3 separate regions of the Homo sapiens genome follow, and all the other regions are linked to region 1. Evidence: promoter capture Hi-C in 16 types of primary human blood cells and fetal thymus (Javierre and others, 2016). All regions are on one chromosome and are shown on one strand. Each heading gives the region's core, a stretch centred on a gene start or on the middle of the fragment in contact. The rest is flanking DNA. Distances are from core to core; before and after follow the strand shown.

What was found. The method cuts DNA at HindIII sites, captures the fragments that hold promoters and counts their contacts. A CHiCAGO score of 5 or more calls a contact.
Region 2: a contact is called between a fragment that was not itself captured here and the fragment with the promoter of CCL22 in region 1, in 1 of 17 cell types (M2 macrophages). The highest score is 5.1, in M2 macrophages.
Region 3: a fragment that was not itself captured here is called in contact with the fragment with the promoter of CCL22 in region 1 in 1 of 17 cell types (endothelial precursors); the score reaches 6.0 in endothelial precursors.

The regions. Positions count from the first base shown.
Region 1 is chr16:57,356,370-57,361,405 of GRCh38, forward strand. It overlaps CCL22 (C-C motif chemokine ligand 22), which reads left to right and starts at 2,414. Exons shown (of 3, transcript NM_002990.5): 1 at 2,414-2,520; 2 at 4,068-4,191. The coding sequence starts at 2,448. The HindIII fragment of the contact is 35,589 bases long and covers 1-5,036 here.
Region 2 is chr16:57,300,236-57,305,271 of GRCh38, forward strand. TRL-CAG2-2 (tRNA-Leu (anticodon CAG) 2-2) reads right to left here and starts at 327; the gene lies at 245-327. RefSeq lists enhancers at 1-39, 3,923-3,972 and a silencer at 190-359. The HindIII fragment of the contact is 5,981 bases long and covers 1-5,036 here.
Region 3 is chr16:57,415,679-57,420,714 of GRCh38, forward strand. CCL17 (C-C motif chemokine ligand 17) reads left to right here. Exons shown (of 4, transcript NM_002987.3): 4 at 87-385. The coding sequence ends at 183. Among named protein-coding and RNA genes, the nearest start is that of CCL17, 13 kb to the left of the region's middle. RefSeq lists enhancers at 439-954, 955-1,470, 1,987-2,501. The HindIII fragment of the contact is 928 bases long and covers 2,250-3,177 here.

The DNA of each region.
Region 1 (5,036 bases), core at 1,164-3,663:
CTGGAGGCTCTGGGGGAGAATCTGTTTCCTTGCCTCTTCCAGCTTCTCCAGCCCGCCTGCATCCCTGGGTTCACAGTTCCACGTCACTGGGACCTCTGCTCTGTCATCCATCATCTCTTCTGACTCTGACCCACAGCCTCCCTCTTGAAATAACTCTGTGATTGCCTTGGGCCTGTCTAGATAATCCAATAAATCTCCCTCTTTAAAGATCCTAGGTCAGGTATGGTGGCTCACACCCATAATCCTAGCACTTCAAGAGGCCAAGATAGGAGGATTGCTTGAGGCCAGGAGTTCAAGACCAGCCCTGGCAACATAGTGAGATCCCCATCTCTACAAGAAATAAAAATGAGCAGGGCGTGGTGGCACACACCTGTAGTCCCAGCTACTTGAGAGGCTGAGGCAGTAGGATCGCTTGAGCCCAGGAGGTCAAGGCTGCAGTGAGCTGTGATTGCACCACTGCACTCCGGCCTGTGTGACAGAGTGAGATCCTGCCTCTAAAACAACGACAACAACAACAAAAATCCTAAACCCTAAACAGTCACATCTGCAAAGTCCTTTTTACCATGTAAGGTAACATATTCATAGGTTTTGGGGATTAGAATGTGGACATTTAGGGGGGCCATTATTCTGTTTACCACAGCGTTCAATAAATGTTTGCTGAATGAAGGAATTGGATGAATGGATGGGTCCCTTTATACATGGAGTCCCAAGTTCTGAGTTCCAGGCCTGGCGTAGCCTCTGTGTGGCTGTGTGAACTGGGCAAGTCCTCTCTCTCTGAACCTCAGTTTCCTCCTTCATTAGATGTGTTCTTTTTTTTCTTTCTTTCTTTCTTTTTTTTTTTTTTTTTTTTTTTGAGATGGACTCTCATTCTCTCACCCAGGCTAGAGTGCAGTGGCGCAATCTTGGCTCACTGCAACCTCTGCCTCTCACCGGATTCAAGCGATTCTCCTGCCTCTCAGCCCCCCAAGTAGCTGGGATTACAGGCGCATGCCATCACACCCGGCCAATTTTTGTATTTTTGGTAGAGATGGGGTTTCTCCATGTTGGCCAGGCTGGTCTTGAACTCCTGACCTCAGGTGATCCACCTGCCTGGGCCTTCCAAAGTGCTGGGATTACAGTCATGAATCACTGCACCCAGCCCATGTGTTCTGAGCACCCAACATGTGCCTGATCCTCAGAGGGCCCTGGGAATGCCAAGAAAAATGAAGGGAGACCCCAGCCTCCTAGAGCTTGGAGTCTGACTTCTAGGGAGGGGCTTGAGAAAGAGAAAACCTGACCCAGTCTGCTCAGGGCCACATTCCAGGTCCCCTAGAAGGCTTTGAAGTCCTGAGAGGGTGTGCTTACCAAGGACATGACATTTCAAACAGCTTTGACGCATAAGTAGGAGTTTATGTGGTAGAGATGTGGAAAGTGACATTAAAGGCCAGGGACAGGCCGCAGTCCCTTTTGAGGAAGTGTGAGGAGTGTGGTGTGATCCCTCAGGGGAAGGAGACCAGTGGGGAAAGGCCTGTCCGGAAACGGGGCCTTGAAGGCCACAGACAGGAGCCCGGGACCTGCCTTTAGGTGAATGGGGAGCCACGGCAGGGTTCTGAAGCAGGAGAGAGAGTGTGTAGCTCTGGACCACTCACGCTGGCTGCTGCAGGGTGGGGATGGCATTGAGGAGGCCAGCATCCCAGCCTGAGGTGGAGGTGGCCTGGACTGGGCAGGAACAGTGGGGTTGGAGAGAAGGAGCAGATCTGAGAGAGATTTAGGAAGCAGAATCAACGGGACATGGACATGGTGAGGGACTGAGACAGGAGTGGGGGAGGGAGAGCCCGGCAGCCACTGGGAAGGAAGATCAGGCAGGACAGAAGTGTGGGTAGATGCTTTCCATAAACCGTTGAGAAATCCACGACCTGGCCCAAATGTGGACTTCACGAGAAGCCCCAGATGGGTCAATGGGTCCATAGGCCTCTCCCATTGAAGAGAGACCAGTAATGCCGTCATTAAGGGTACAAGACAGGCCTCAATTCTAGGTGAGGGTTGGTCCACGTTCTCACTTGATTTACAACCAGTGAAGTCAACAGAGCTGTGAAACCATCTCCCCCATTTCCAGATGGGGAAACCAAGTCCCAGAGACACCCAGACATGGCCAAGGCCACACAGTGCAGAGACCCTGGGGAGCACAAGCCTCTAAGAGGGGGATTTTACAAGTCTGTCTGAAACCAGAGGCGAGGACAGAGTTGAGGGGGGGTCCCCTCTGAGTGGTTCCCCGCCAAAGAGAATTTCTCCACTTTGGAGGAAGTGGGAGGTAGTTCTTCTTTTGAGATGTGAATGTCAAGTGACTCTGGGCACCCCGGTGACTAAGAGGTAAGTAAGTGAGGCTTGTGGGTGGAGCCAGCACCTTAAATAGCAGGTCTTCCTATGTCCCTTTGCAGACACCTGGGCTGAGACATACAGGACAGAGCATGGATCGCCTACAGACTGCACTCCTGGTTGTCCTCGTCCTCCTTGCTGTGGCGCTTCAAGCAACTGAGGCAGGTGAGGCTGGGGAGCAGGAAGACCCCCTACAGAGGCCAGGGCAGACGGTGGGGTGTCTTCCTCATGTCTTGGACAAGCACTGGACCAAGAGCAGAAGACCTCAGTCTGCTGTTGGCTCTTGCGGCCTTCGGCTAGTTGCAGTGCTTCTCTGGGCCTCAGTTTACAAGTCTGTTGAATGGGCAGTCTTGAAGACTTGGAGTCTAGGATCTGTCTCACCTGGGTTGGGGGTTGTGGTGGGCATAGCCTCGGGATCTCCTGCCCCAGAAAACTCAAGCATAGGGCCCTAGGGGTGTGGGTGAGGAGCTTCTAAGGGTCAGGTCTGAGTGGGGGAAGGCAGGGCTGGGGCAAGGGGTTCTCCCTTGGAAAGCTGGTGCTGCCCTCCCACCATCCATTTTTTAAAATGTTATTATTATTATTTTTTATTTTATTTTATTTTATTTTTTGAGACACAGTTTCACTCTTGTTGCCCAGGATGGAGTGCAGTGGGGCAATCTTGGCCCACTGCAACCTCTACCTCCCAGGTTCAAGCGATTCTCCTGCCTCAGCCTCCTGAGTAGCTGGGATTACAGGCATGCACCACCACACCTGGCTAATTTTTGTATTTTTAGTGGAGACAGGGTTTCACCATGTTGGCCAGGCTGGTCTCAAACTCCTGACCTCAGATGATCCTCCCACCTCAGCCTCCCAAAGTGCTGGGATTACAGGCATGAGCCACTGCGTCTAGCCTAAATTTATTTTTTATTTCATTTTATTTATTTATTTTTTGAGATGGAGTCTCTGTTGCCCAGGCTGGAGTGCAGTGGCGCAATCTCAGCTCACTGCAACCTCCACCTCTGGAGTTAAAGTGATTCTCCTGCCTCAGCCTCCTGAGTAGCTGGGATTACAGGCACCTGCCACCATGCCCGGCTAATTTTTGTATTTTTAGTAAAGATGGGGTTTCACCATGCTGACCGGTCTTGTCTCGAACTCCTGACCTCAAGTGAAACTCCCATCTTGGCCTCCCTAAGTGTTAGGATTACAGGCGTGAGCCACTGCTCTGGGCTCACTATCCATTTTTGTCCAGAACCTGTCCTCAGCATGGATTCCTGACTCCTCTTCTCCACCCCACTCTATACTTTTGCTGTGTTGGGTGGAGGAGTGAGCACTGGAGTGGGGTCAGGCAGCTATAAACAAGAATTGCTCCCAGCTGCTGGGCTTTCTGAGTGCTTTTCATGCATTAAAGACCCTCTGAAGCTGGTACTGTTATTACCCCTTTGGTCAGAGGAGGAAATTGGGCCTCAGGCTACAGCTGATGCTTAGTTGTTCTGAATCCCCGCTCCTAGAGCTGACTGTCCCAGAGTGTAGACATTGGACCCTAAGTGGCTTCTCAGAAGCTCCAAGGGTAGGGTCTTGGAGGGCTCAGAATCCTCTGGTCACCATCCTTCCACATGAGAACAGAAAAACTGCATCTCTTTCCTGGAGCCTGGAGAGGCCGAGATCAGGGGCTGGGGCCGAGGGTGACCTCTCTGGGCTCCAGCTTGTGAATTCACTGGGGACCCCTCCCCTAGGCCCCTACGGCGCCAACATGGAAGACAGCGTCTGCTGCCGTGATTACGTCCGTTACCGTCTGCCCCTGCGCGTGGTGAAACACTTCTACTGGACCTCAGACTCCTGCCCGAGGCCTGGCGTGGTGTGAGTAGGGAGCTGGGGCCACAGGGCCTTGGTGGGCCTGACGGGTACAGCCTGGGATGGCCCAGGTGCTGGTGGGTGGGACACACCCAGGGATGAGAGGAATGTGGCAGGGCTACCAGATGCCTGCCAGGATGGCTTGGCTGGAAGAGATGGCTCAGTTCAGGCTTGGGTGGACTACAAACAAAAATAATGTGATCGTTTAGCCAATATCCTCAGGCGCTTACTAGGTGCCAGGCAACATGTCAGGTTCTGAGGATGCAGAGCTGAGTGAACAGGGTGCCACCACAGTGTGGGTATGGCAGTAGGTAGTCAGTAGCTGTGGCATCTAGGGTATTTGGGTATAGCAGGTATAGGAGTATACCTAGTGCCACTGAGTCAGCAAAGATGCTCCCAGGTTCTGGGCAAAAATGGATGGTGAACCAGGCGTGGTGGCTCATGCCTGTAATCCCAGCACTTTGGGAGGCCGAGGCAGGCAGATCACTTGAGGTCAGGAGTTCAAGATCAGCCTGGTCAACATGGTGAAACCCCATCTCTACTAAAAATACAAAATTAGCTGAGTGTGATGGTGCGTGCCTGTGGTCCCAGCTACTTGGGAGGCTGAGGCAGGAGAATCATTTGAACCTGGAAGGTGGAGGTTGCAGTGAGCCGAGATCGCTCCACCTCACTCCAGCCTGGGCAACAGAGGGAGACTCTGTCTCAAAAAAAAAAAAAAAAAAAAAATGCTCACACCAGAAGTGTCTTGGATCCTCTCCAGGCTCCCAGAAGTCCAAGGCAGCCCATTTTGACCAGAAGAATAACATTAAGAGCTAAAATTTCCAAGGTGCCTCCCGAGTGCCAGGCACTGT
Region 2 (5,036 bases), core at 886-3,385, 56 kb before region 1:
CCACACTCCAGCTTAGGCGACAGAGCGAGATTCTTTTTTAAAAAAGAAAATGCTCGTTAATAAGAAAATACTCGTTTTGTAAAACAATTAAGATTATGCGAACATATACGCACAAGACATCATAACCTCATTGATCTGTAAAAGAATAAAAAAAGATTATAAGAACATATACACAGAACACATACACACAAGACATCATAACCTCACTGATCTGCGGTGTTGATGAGGAAAAGTAATTGAGCTCTGTCAGAAGTGGGATTCGAACCCACGCCTCCAGGGGAGACTGCGACCTGAACGCAGCGCCTTAGACCGCTCGGCCATCCTGACTGCTTGCAGTGTGTGGCGCATAAAGCCTCTTCACAAGTTCTGCAATATGCGCATGCGTAGTGGGCAGCGAAGACCCACTCCTAGTTGTCCGCCCGGCGTTGGGTGGAGCGAGATACACTCACTTGCTCCAATGGGCGTGGAGAGATGGGACAAGGAAGGTCAGCGCGATGCACCTAGGCGACGCCAGAGGGTGCGCAAGGCCTACTAGAGAAGGCCGAGACCGAAGACTGTTACTTCAATACACATGCATTCGTGCCTCCAGCCTGTATTCATTCTGCATTCATACATGTACTATCATGTCAGCTTTGATTCCTGAAATCTGCAAGCAACCTTGCATTTCCCTTGTGCACAATGCAATCAAGTCCGTATACCTGCACTGATTCGCAGACATTTCCGTGGGCTGGCGCCCAATCTAGGTAAAGCCCAGGTATTGCAAGGCCGCCTGGCACTCTTACCGCGCTCTCCTTCCGAATACTCGCCCCAGCTGCAGCTTCACATTTGTATATGTGTTATAATTCATTTACTCAGGCTCCGGGATAGAACGAGGCCTGCAGCTGCACAGCCAGACCCGCCCTATTCCTATGTCCCCAGTGCCCAAACCGTACCCGGCACACAGTAGGTACGCAGGGAAGATCCCATGGATTCATTCTTCCCTCGCTTCCTCCTTCCTGCATCCCCTCATTTCGTGACTCATCTCTCTTTTCCTGGCCCCCGCGGCATCTTCCTCTCTTCCCTTCCACCCCCTCTAGGCTTACGCACGCCGCGCACAGGCTGTTTCCAGGGACCAGAAGACCTCGGTACCGAGAGGGTGCCCTTCTCCAGAAGGATTTCTAGGATCTCAGGGGGCTGGGCCGCTGACCTGGTGTGTAACAATTACACATTAATTAATGAATTCCCTCATTAATGACTCATATTCCTACAATGGCAGCTGCTGCCCCTCTCTGTACACAGGCACTAGAAGAGAGGGTCCAAGACCCTCGAACATCTCTGAGCCAACTTTGGAGTCCAGGGGTCAGGCCTAGAAGGTGTGAGCAGTGGGGTCACATTAACCTCTTAGTGCCCTCGGACTTGTCTGAGATGGTATCACAGAGCGGCCTCGGCCAGAGAACAGCAGCACTTACCACCCTTGGATTAGATTCCCTTGAGATGCTTGGAGCTTGGGATGCAGCCCCATGGGGGTGGGCAGAGGTCCTGGTTATCTGAAAGACAATGAAATCCTCCTCTTTCCCTGTCCCAAATGTCCTCTCCTCATTGACTGCCAGAATTCTTTCCTTTAGGTTTAGCACTAAACTCTTTTGTGTCCTCTTCTAAAATACAAATTGCCCTGGAAGCTGGAAAGAAAGTCAACAAACATTTATTAAGCACTTGCTATGTGCCACTCTTCTAGATGCTGTGAACAAAACAGAATTTCCACTCTCAAGATACATTCAGGCATGGAGCGAAGGGAGAAGGATAAGAAACAGGTGGACAAATACATCCAGGTGTTGTTAAATGCTGGGTAGAGGATGCATCAAGAAACTCATGAAAGACTTTAAAACAGGCAAAAAAGATAGCTGGATCTGATTCTATAAGGGCTTGCACCTTTCATTACTTTTATGTCCAAATAATTCTTGTCCACAGAAATACAGGTGAATTTTGTTAGGGTAGAATGCAATTGATCATTGCCCTGTGGATATTGACCAATTTTGCAATCTGCTTATAAATTCATTTCAGCATTCCTGATTGCCAATATATGTGTGTCTTTGAATTCTCTTTTGAATTGGCTATAACATTGAACAGGTCCTCCCATTAATTAATGACTAAAATAAAATCTTTGACGTGTTCATTTTATATTTATATGAGAATTATGATTTTATCTTAAAAATTATCCTTTTGGCCAGGCGAGGTGACTCATGCCTGTAATCCCAGCACTTTGGGAGGCTGAGGTGGGCAGATCACAAGGTCAGAAGTTCAAGACCAGCCTCGACAACATGGTGAAACCCCGTCTCTACTAAAAATACAAAAATTAGCCAGGCGTCATGGCACTTGCCTGTAATCCCAGCTACTAAGGAGGCTGAGGAAGGAGAATTGCTTGAACCCGAGAGGCAGAGGTTGCAGTGAGCTGAGATCACACCATTGCACTCCAGCCTGGGTAACAGAGTGAGACTCCATCTCAAAAAAAAAAAAATACCCTTTTAACAGTGATCAAGAGTGATTGGGGCTCTCCTAGGCAGGGTGGTTAGGGAGGGCCTCTGTGAGGAGCTGACACTGAGTTCAAAAGGAGAAACACAAGCAAGATCAAAGCTGCAGGTGGCAGCATTTCAGATAAAAGACATAGCCAGTGCAAAGGCTCTGAGGCAGAGAGAAATATAGTCTGTTGGAGGGACAGCAAGGCCAGTGTGGCAGGGGTAAGGTGATGGGAAGGTTCAGGCCATATCACACAGGGCTGGAGTGCCAGGGAAAGGAGTTTGGATTTTCTTCTGTGATGGAGTAACTGCTGTGTTTTTGTTTGTTGTTGTTGTTGTTTTGACACAGGGTCCAGCCCTGTGGCCCAGGTTGGAGTCCAGTGGCACAATCTTGGCTTACTGCAGACAATCTCCTGGTCTCAAGCAATCCCTGCCTCAGCCTCCCAAGTATTTGGGACTACAGGTGTGCACCACCACACTTGGCTAATTTTTATACTTTTTGTAGAGACAGGATCTTGACACTTTGCCCAGGCTGTTCTCGAACTCCTGAGCTCAAGAGATCCTCCGGCCTTGGTCTCCCAAAATGCTGAGATGATAGGTGTGAGCCACTGTGCCCAGCCTGGAGTGTTTTAAGCAGGGGAGTGGCATGGTCCTGAGGGCCCTTCAAAAACTATCCCTTTGGCTGCTGTGTGGAGGATGGACGGCAGGCCAAGGGAAGAATTGGAAGTCCAGGGGGAAGGCCAGGGCAGGGAGGGTAAGAGATGATGATGGCTGGACCAGGGAAGTGGAGATTGCAAAAGGTGGTAGAATTCAAGATTCAGGATGTGTTTTGGGGTAAAACACACAAGCCCTGCTGGCTGGCTGGTGTGTGTGTGGGGTGTCAGGGTGGAGAGAGAGGATGTAGGGATGCAATAGGAGGTCACGAAGGCCATAGGGGAGCCAGGTTACTAGATGCTTGGTTTCCCTTGAAGGCAAGGGCTTTGAAGCAGGGGCTGCTAGCTTCCCACTTTCACCCCATTTTGCAGACCAGGGAGGTAAGGCTCAGGTGGGCTGAGTGACTTGCCCAAGGTCCTCTTTGGGGCAGAAGCCCTGCACTCTCCACCTCTGGGACCCTCCCTTCATTTCTTGCATCACCAACCTTTCTGAGTGCACATCATTTTAGAGAGAAGGGAACAGAGGTAGCGCCAGAGCTGGAGCCCACACCAGCCCCGCCCTGCCTGCTGCCCTCCTGGCCGGCCTGGGAGAAAGTGCTCCCTTGATGGGGCTCAGCACCAGGTTCCCACACAGCTCTGTCTCTTGGGTTTGGGTGGATGATCAGGTGTCCCCCCTCGACACCTTTCATGTGACACCCTCCTGGCCTGGAGGAAGCCTTGTACCCCTAGGTCCCTGAGACCAAAATTGGGAAGGGAGAAGGCCACCATTTCTGTTTATGTCCTGTTTCCACCTTATCAGCAGCCTAGACGCCAACAATGAGCCCTGTGGGACAGGCCTCACCCATTCCCTGCTCCGGACATTTGTCCAGCTTGGGGAAAAAAAAGTCCCCTGGGTGGAGCTTGAAAAGCCCACAAGCAGCTGGGGAAGCCCCGACGTGGCTCTTCCTGTACTTTGCCCTACTTTGCACAGATGAAGTCAGATGGCCAAATGAGGACCTAGTGTTTGTCCAGCCAAGGTGCCTGAAAGGGGTAATTCCTAGCATTCCTGGGACTTCAGCACACATCACCAGCCCTCCCAGGGACAAGTGTGGCAAGAAGCTGAGTATTAGTGAATGTTTCCTTTCCATCCATTACCTCACTTAATGTTCAGCACAGCACCACAACACAGGTCATCATTACCCCCATTTTACAGGAAAGTGAGGCTCAGAGAGACCACATGAATTACCCAGAGTCACACAGCTGATAAATGGAACTTGATTTGTCTGGCTCAAAACTCCTTGAGGCCAGGTGTGGTGGCTCACACCTGTAATCCTAACACTTTGAGAGGCCGGGGTGGGAGGATCGCTTGAGCCCAGGAGGTCGAGGCTGCAGTGAGCCGTGATCATGCCACCTCACTCCAGCCCGGGCAACAGAGTGAGATGCTGTCTCAAAAACAAAACAAAACAAAACAAAACAAAACAAAACCCCTTCTTGAATGCTGTGTGCCTAGCATTGTGCCAAGCACTTTCTTTACATTGTCTCCTTAATAAAGGCCATGAGGCCGGGCGCGGTGGCTCACACCTGTAATCCTGGCACTTTGGGAGGCCGAGGCGGGCGGATCACCTGAGGTCAGGAGTTCGAGACCAACCTTACCAACATGGTGAAACCCCATCTCTACTAAAAATACAAAAAATTAGCCAGTCATGGTGGCAGGCGCCTGTGATCCCAGCTACTCGGAAGGCTGAGGCAGGAAAGTTGCTTGAACCCAGGAGGCAGAGGTTGCAGTGAGCCGAGATCGTGCCACTGCACTCCAGCCTGGGCGCGACAGAGCGAGACTCCATCTCAAAAAGAAAAAAAAAAAAAAAGCCACGAGGGCTTGCCAATTCACATGGCAGGATGGACTTTGAGATGC
Region 3 (5,036 bases), core at 1,464-3,963, 60 kb after region 1:
CCTGGTCAGCACAGGGCGGGCCGTCCCAGGGACTCTGGGGGCCCTTCCCCCCCTGCCACTCCTGGTAACGTCCTCCTTCTGTGTAGTTTTGTAACTGTGCAGGGCAGGGCCATCTGTTCGGACCCCAACAACAAGAGAGTGAAGAATGCAGTTAAATACCTGCAAAGCCTTGAGAGGTCTTGAAGCCTCCTCACCCCAGACTCCTGACTGTCTCCCGGGACTACCTGGGACCTCCACCGTTGGTGTTCACCGCCCCCACCCTGAGCGCCTGGGTCCAGGGGAGGCCTTCCAGGGACGAAGAAGAGCCACAGTGAGGGAGATCCCATCCCCTTGTCTGAACTGGAGCCATGGGCACAAAGGGCCCAGATTAAAGTCTTTATCCTCAGTCTGTGTCAGCGTGTCTGTCCCCACAGCGCAAGATGCGCTTCCACTCCGGCCTGTCACTCTGGGAGGGTTCTCAGAGAACCTCTGGTCCTGCCCTGTGCAGGTCGGAAAGGGAAACTGAGGCTGAGAAGGGCACGTGGCTTCCGCAGACCACGCACCAGTGAGGGGAGGCCCTGGTGAGAGGCCCGGGCAGGGGCGGGGTTGGCGGGGTCCTGGGAGGCGGCCGCTGGATTCTCTCCCTACCCACCCCAAGGTCTCCCGGTTTCCCCCCAGCCCAGCTCCTGTTCTTGCCCCACGTGGAGCTGAGGACAAACTTCCCCGAGGTGCTGGAGTCAATTTCACAGACTGGCCAGGACCCTGCCGCAGGCCACAGCTCTGCCCAGTGCTGGGGAGCCCCCTGGCCAAGGGTGGGGGAAGCTTGTAGCCCTGTCCTTGCCTTCCCCTGCACTCACTGCAGTCCAGCTGGCCCGGCTCCTCCTGGCCCTGGCTCCCTCTCCCCGCTCAAACTCCAGACCCCAGCTCCAGGGCGAGGGGGCTCTGTGGGTCCTGGGCCCTCTGCCTGCGGCTGACTTCCTAGCCCACTCCAGGCTCAGGCAGGCGGGCGCCACGCGGCCCTGTGGTTCCTCCTGACTGAAGTGTGATCCCCACCCGGCCCTGGCTGCGCCCAGCCTGCCGGAAGCCGGCCCAGCACAACCGCCCACCGACTCGCTCCCCCAGCTCTTAGGGACTGCCCTGAAGCCGACCCCTGCTCCGCGTGGTTCTCTCATTGTGTGTGTGTGTGTGTGTGTGTGTGTGTGTGTGTGCGTGCGCGTGTGTGGCAGTCCCAGCTCCTCCATTAGGTTGAGAGCTCCGTGAGCCACTCCGGGGACCCCACACCCCTGTGCTAAAAAAGATGGGGACTAGAGGCTCAGGACACCCCACCCCCAGACCCCTCTGCCCATGCCCAGCTAAGGGCTGAGCACAGAGGAGTCGGGGCCTAAGCCTTCTAGTTCTCTCTCACTCTCCCAACCAGCGATGGGGCCGTGGCTTCTCTCTGAACACAGTTTGGCGGCAGGGGCGCGGGTCCTTCTCTTCCGAGGACCTTGTGGCGGGCATTGTTTGGTGGGGCTGCGGTTAGAAGGGCAATTTCCAGGCCCGGCTGTTGCCTCCTGCTGCTCCCTTGTGGCCAGTCAGCTCATTGCAGGGCAGATGATAGAACCCAAGTTTACTTTCCAGTACGGGCACAGCGATAACGAGGTTGATAAAACCAGTGAACTGGCTTGCCTGTGACTCTAGGGTCTCTTCAGCCGCAAGTGGGCTCATCTCCTGTCCTGATGCCGAGGAGGATCACTTGAACAACTGCCTAAGACCCAGAGTCCTGGGGATGGCCCAGTCTGAGTTCTTCATGGAAAATTGTCCTCTGAATCCACCGGGAGGAGGAAGGATGATCTAAAAAGGGAGGGAGGCAAGGAGAAGCTCCTAAGACAGCAAAGGCCAGAGACAGCCGGGGTCTGGACCCCTGCACCCTGCAGGCGAGAGCTGGAAGGACTCTCAGAGTGCAATGGCTCCATCTCAGCTCACTGCAACCTCCGCCTCCCAGGTTCAAGCGATTCTCCTGCTTCAGCCTCCTAAGTAGCTGGGATTACAGGCGCCCGCCACCACACCCGGCTAATTTTTTTGTATTTTTAGTAGAGACGGGGTTTCACCATGTCGGTCAGGCTGGTCTTGAACTCTTGGCCTTATGTGATCCACTCGCCTTGGCCTCCCAAAGTGCTGAGATTACAGGCATGAGCCACCGCGCCTGGCCTCCAGCAAACTTCGTTTAAAAAAGCAAGACCTTTTTTGTTTTTTCCCTACTGAAATCCTACTCAGAAGCCCATATTGTAAGCTTAGGTAAGTAGAGCTGCCGTGGAGGCCTGTGAGGAGGTGGGGAGTTGCCAGAGGGTCCCTGAAAGTGAGATAGGGTGGGGCATTGCATAAAGGCAGGGAAGAGGTGGATCCAGGACTGGCAACAAAACGCAGGATTCAGAATCCAAGTATTCACGAGCAGCATCCGGTGCAAGCTGGGGGATGGTGAGATGCAAGAGATAGGACAACTGCCATGTGACCTTAGGGCATTTTAAGGAGGTGTGACCTGGAGACTGCTGTGATTGGAAAGACTGCTGGGAGGGAAAAAGAGGAATGGGCAGGTTCGGGGTGAAAAGTGAGGAGAAGCGCCAGACTTATGTTGTTTCTTTCACCTGGTAGGTGCCTCCCCTCCTCCCCCACCCCACCCCTGCTTTTTTTTTTTTTTTTTTTTTTTTTTTTTTTCAGATGGAGTCTGGCTCTGTGACCCAGGCTGGAGTGCAGTGGTGCGATCTGGCTCACTGCAACCTCTGTCTCCCGGGTTCAAGCGATTCTCATGCCTCAGCTTCCTGAGTAGCTGGGATTATAGGTGTGCACCACCACACCTGGCTGATTTTTGTATTTTTAGAAGAGATGGGGTTTTACCATGTTGGCCAGGCTGGTCTCGAACTCCCGAGCTCAAGTGATCCGCCCACCTCGGCCTCCCAAAGTGCTGGGATTACAGGCGTGAGCCACTATTCTGAAATCCAGTTTCTCTTCAACGCTCAACTCAGTGCTGCCTCTGCCACAGCCAGCCTACTCAACCTCAGCTGTGTGTCCTCCACCTGCACCCAACGCTCACCTTAGTCTAATCCTGACCACACTCTACCCCTTGTAATTGGAGCTGCTTGGGTGATTTACCCAATAAACTCACTGAGCAGGTATTTGGGTCAGGAAACAGTACCAGACTCATTTATGAGGAGGGAAAAAAGCTTTGTGCACAGTGTATATTTGATTTATACATTTTCATCAGTGCTGCTCAGGTGAATTCCACAAGGGGCACTAGTGGGGAAAGAGAAATTTCCTGGGGAGCCCTAATAACCCGGCTTGAAGCATATTGCATCTCCAAACGTGGAAATTAGAATTGGGTTGTTTTCCAGTGGCCCACCAGAGGGCACTCTGCTCTTAGGAGGAAGTTCTGAGGCTGATGCGCCAGGGGCCCTGACCCCACCAGCCAGACTCCGGCCCCATCGCTGTCCCCAGGGGCTGGGATCAGCCACATCTGGTTGTAGCTGCACTAGGCCTTGGGGCAGGGGTGTCTGTAGCTGGCCGGCTCTCCTCTTGTGGGAACAGAAGCAAAGAAACCGCCAATTACACTGTCTGGGGTTTGCTGGATGAAGAGGAAGAAGGAAGAAACCCTGCTGGGACTAGCAGGGCCACTAACTCCAGACGCAACCTGGGCAGTGCCAAGAGCTGTGGGCTGGGGTGTTTCACTGTGTTTTCTTAGAGACTGTATTTGGTCTATTTGGCATCCATTTATCACAGGGCCAAATCACAGGGCCAAAAGCATTTATACCTCCCCTGCAAGCTGGTTTTTGCAAGTGTTTGAAAGTAATAATAGTTACAAACCCTCCAACCAATCCCAATCACAGGCCCCCCAACCATCTCTATTTAACTCTCACACCAAGCCAGTATTTCCCCTGCCCTAAATCACCCAGAGCCAGGTAGAGACAACTAGGGACGGCCCCTAAGCCCAAGGCCCCCTGGAATTATTCCAACTAGCCAGACCCGGGCTGCTTCCCCTGGCCTGCCTTGCACTTCGGGTGGAAACCCCACAAAAGGCTGTGGCCTGTGCTGTTCTGATCCTTCCTTTCAGCCTCCTGACCAAACTTGGTGCTCCCCCTGTGGCCCCGTGTGTGGTCCTGCGTGTGTGCCATGCCCTGTTCTCCTGGGAGATGCAAGTGATGAATTCTTTCAGTGTCCTTGGTCGCTCTGTGTTGTCACTCAGTCACCTCCATCAATTCAAATCCTGGGGGTACATTTTAAATTTTTTAAATTGATGCATAGTAATTGTACATATTTATGGGATACATATGATACTGTGACACAAGCATACAATGCATAGTGATCAGATCAAGGTAATCAGGATATCCATCACCTCGAACATTTATCATTTCACTGTGTTGGGAACGTTTCAAATCTTCTCTTCTAGCTATTTTGAAATATACAATAGGCTGGGCATAGTGGCTCACACCTGTAATCCCAGCACTCTGGGAGGCCAAGGTGGGAGGATCACTTGAGCCCAGGAGTCTGAGACCAGTCTGGGCAACATAGTGAGACTCAGTCTTTACGAAATGCACAAATTAGCCAGGCATGGTAGCATGCGCCTGTGCTGCCAGCTACTCAGGAGGCTGAGGTGGGAGGATCACTTGAGCACAGCAGGTCAAGGCTGCAGTGAACTGTGATGGTGCCACTGCACTCCAGCCGGGGTTACAGAGGGAGACCCTGTCTCAAAAAGAAAAAAAAGGCTGGGCATGGTGGCTCACGCCTGTAATCCTAGCACTTTGGGAGGCCAAAGTAGGTAGATCACCTGAGGTCAGGAGTTCTAGACCAGCTTGGCCAACATGATGAAACCCCATCTTTACTAAAAATACAAAAAAATTAGCTGGATGTGGTGGCTGGCACCTGTAATCCTAGCTACTCGGGAGGCTGAGGCAGGAGAATCGCTTGAACCCGGGAGAGGTTGCAGTGAGCCAAGATTGCACCATTGCACTCCAGCCTGGGCGATAAGAGTGAAACTCCATCTCAAAGAAAGAAAGAAAGAAAGAAAAAGAAAGGAAGGAAGGAAG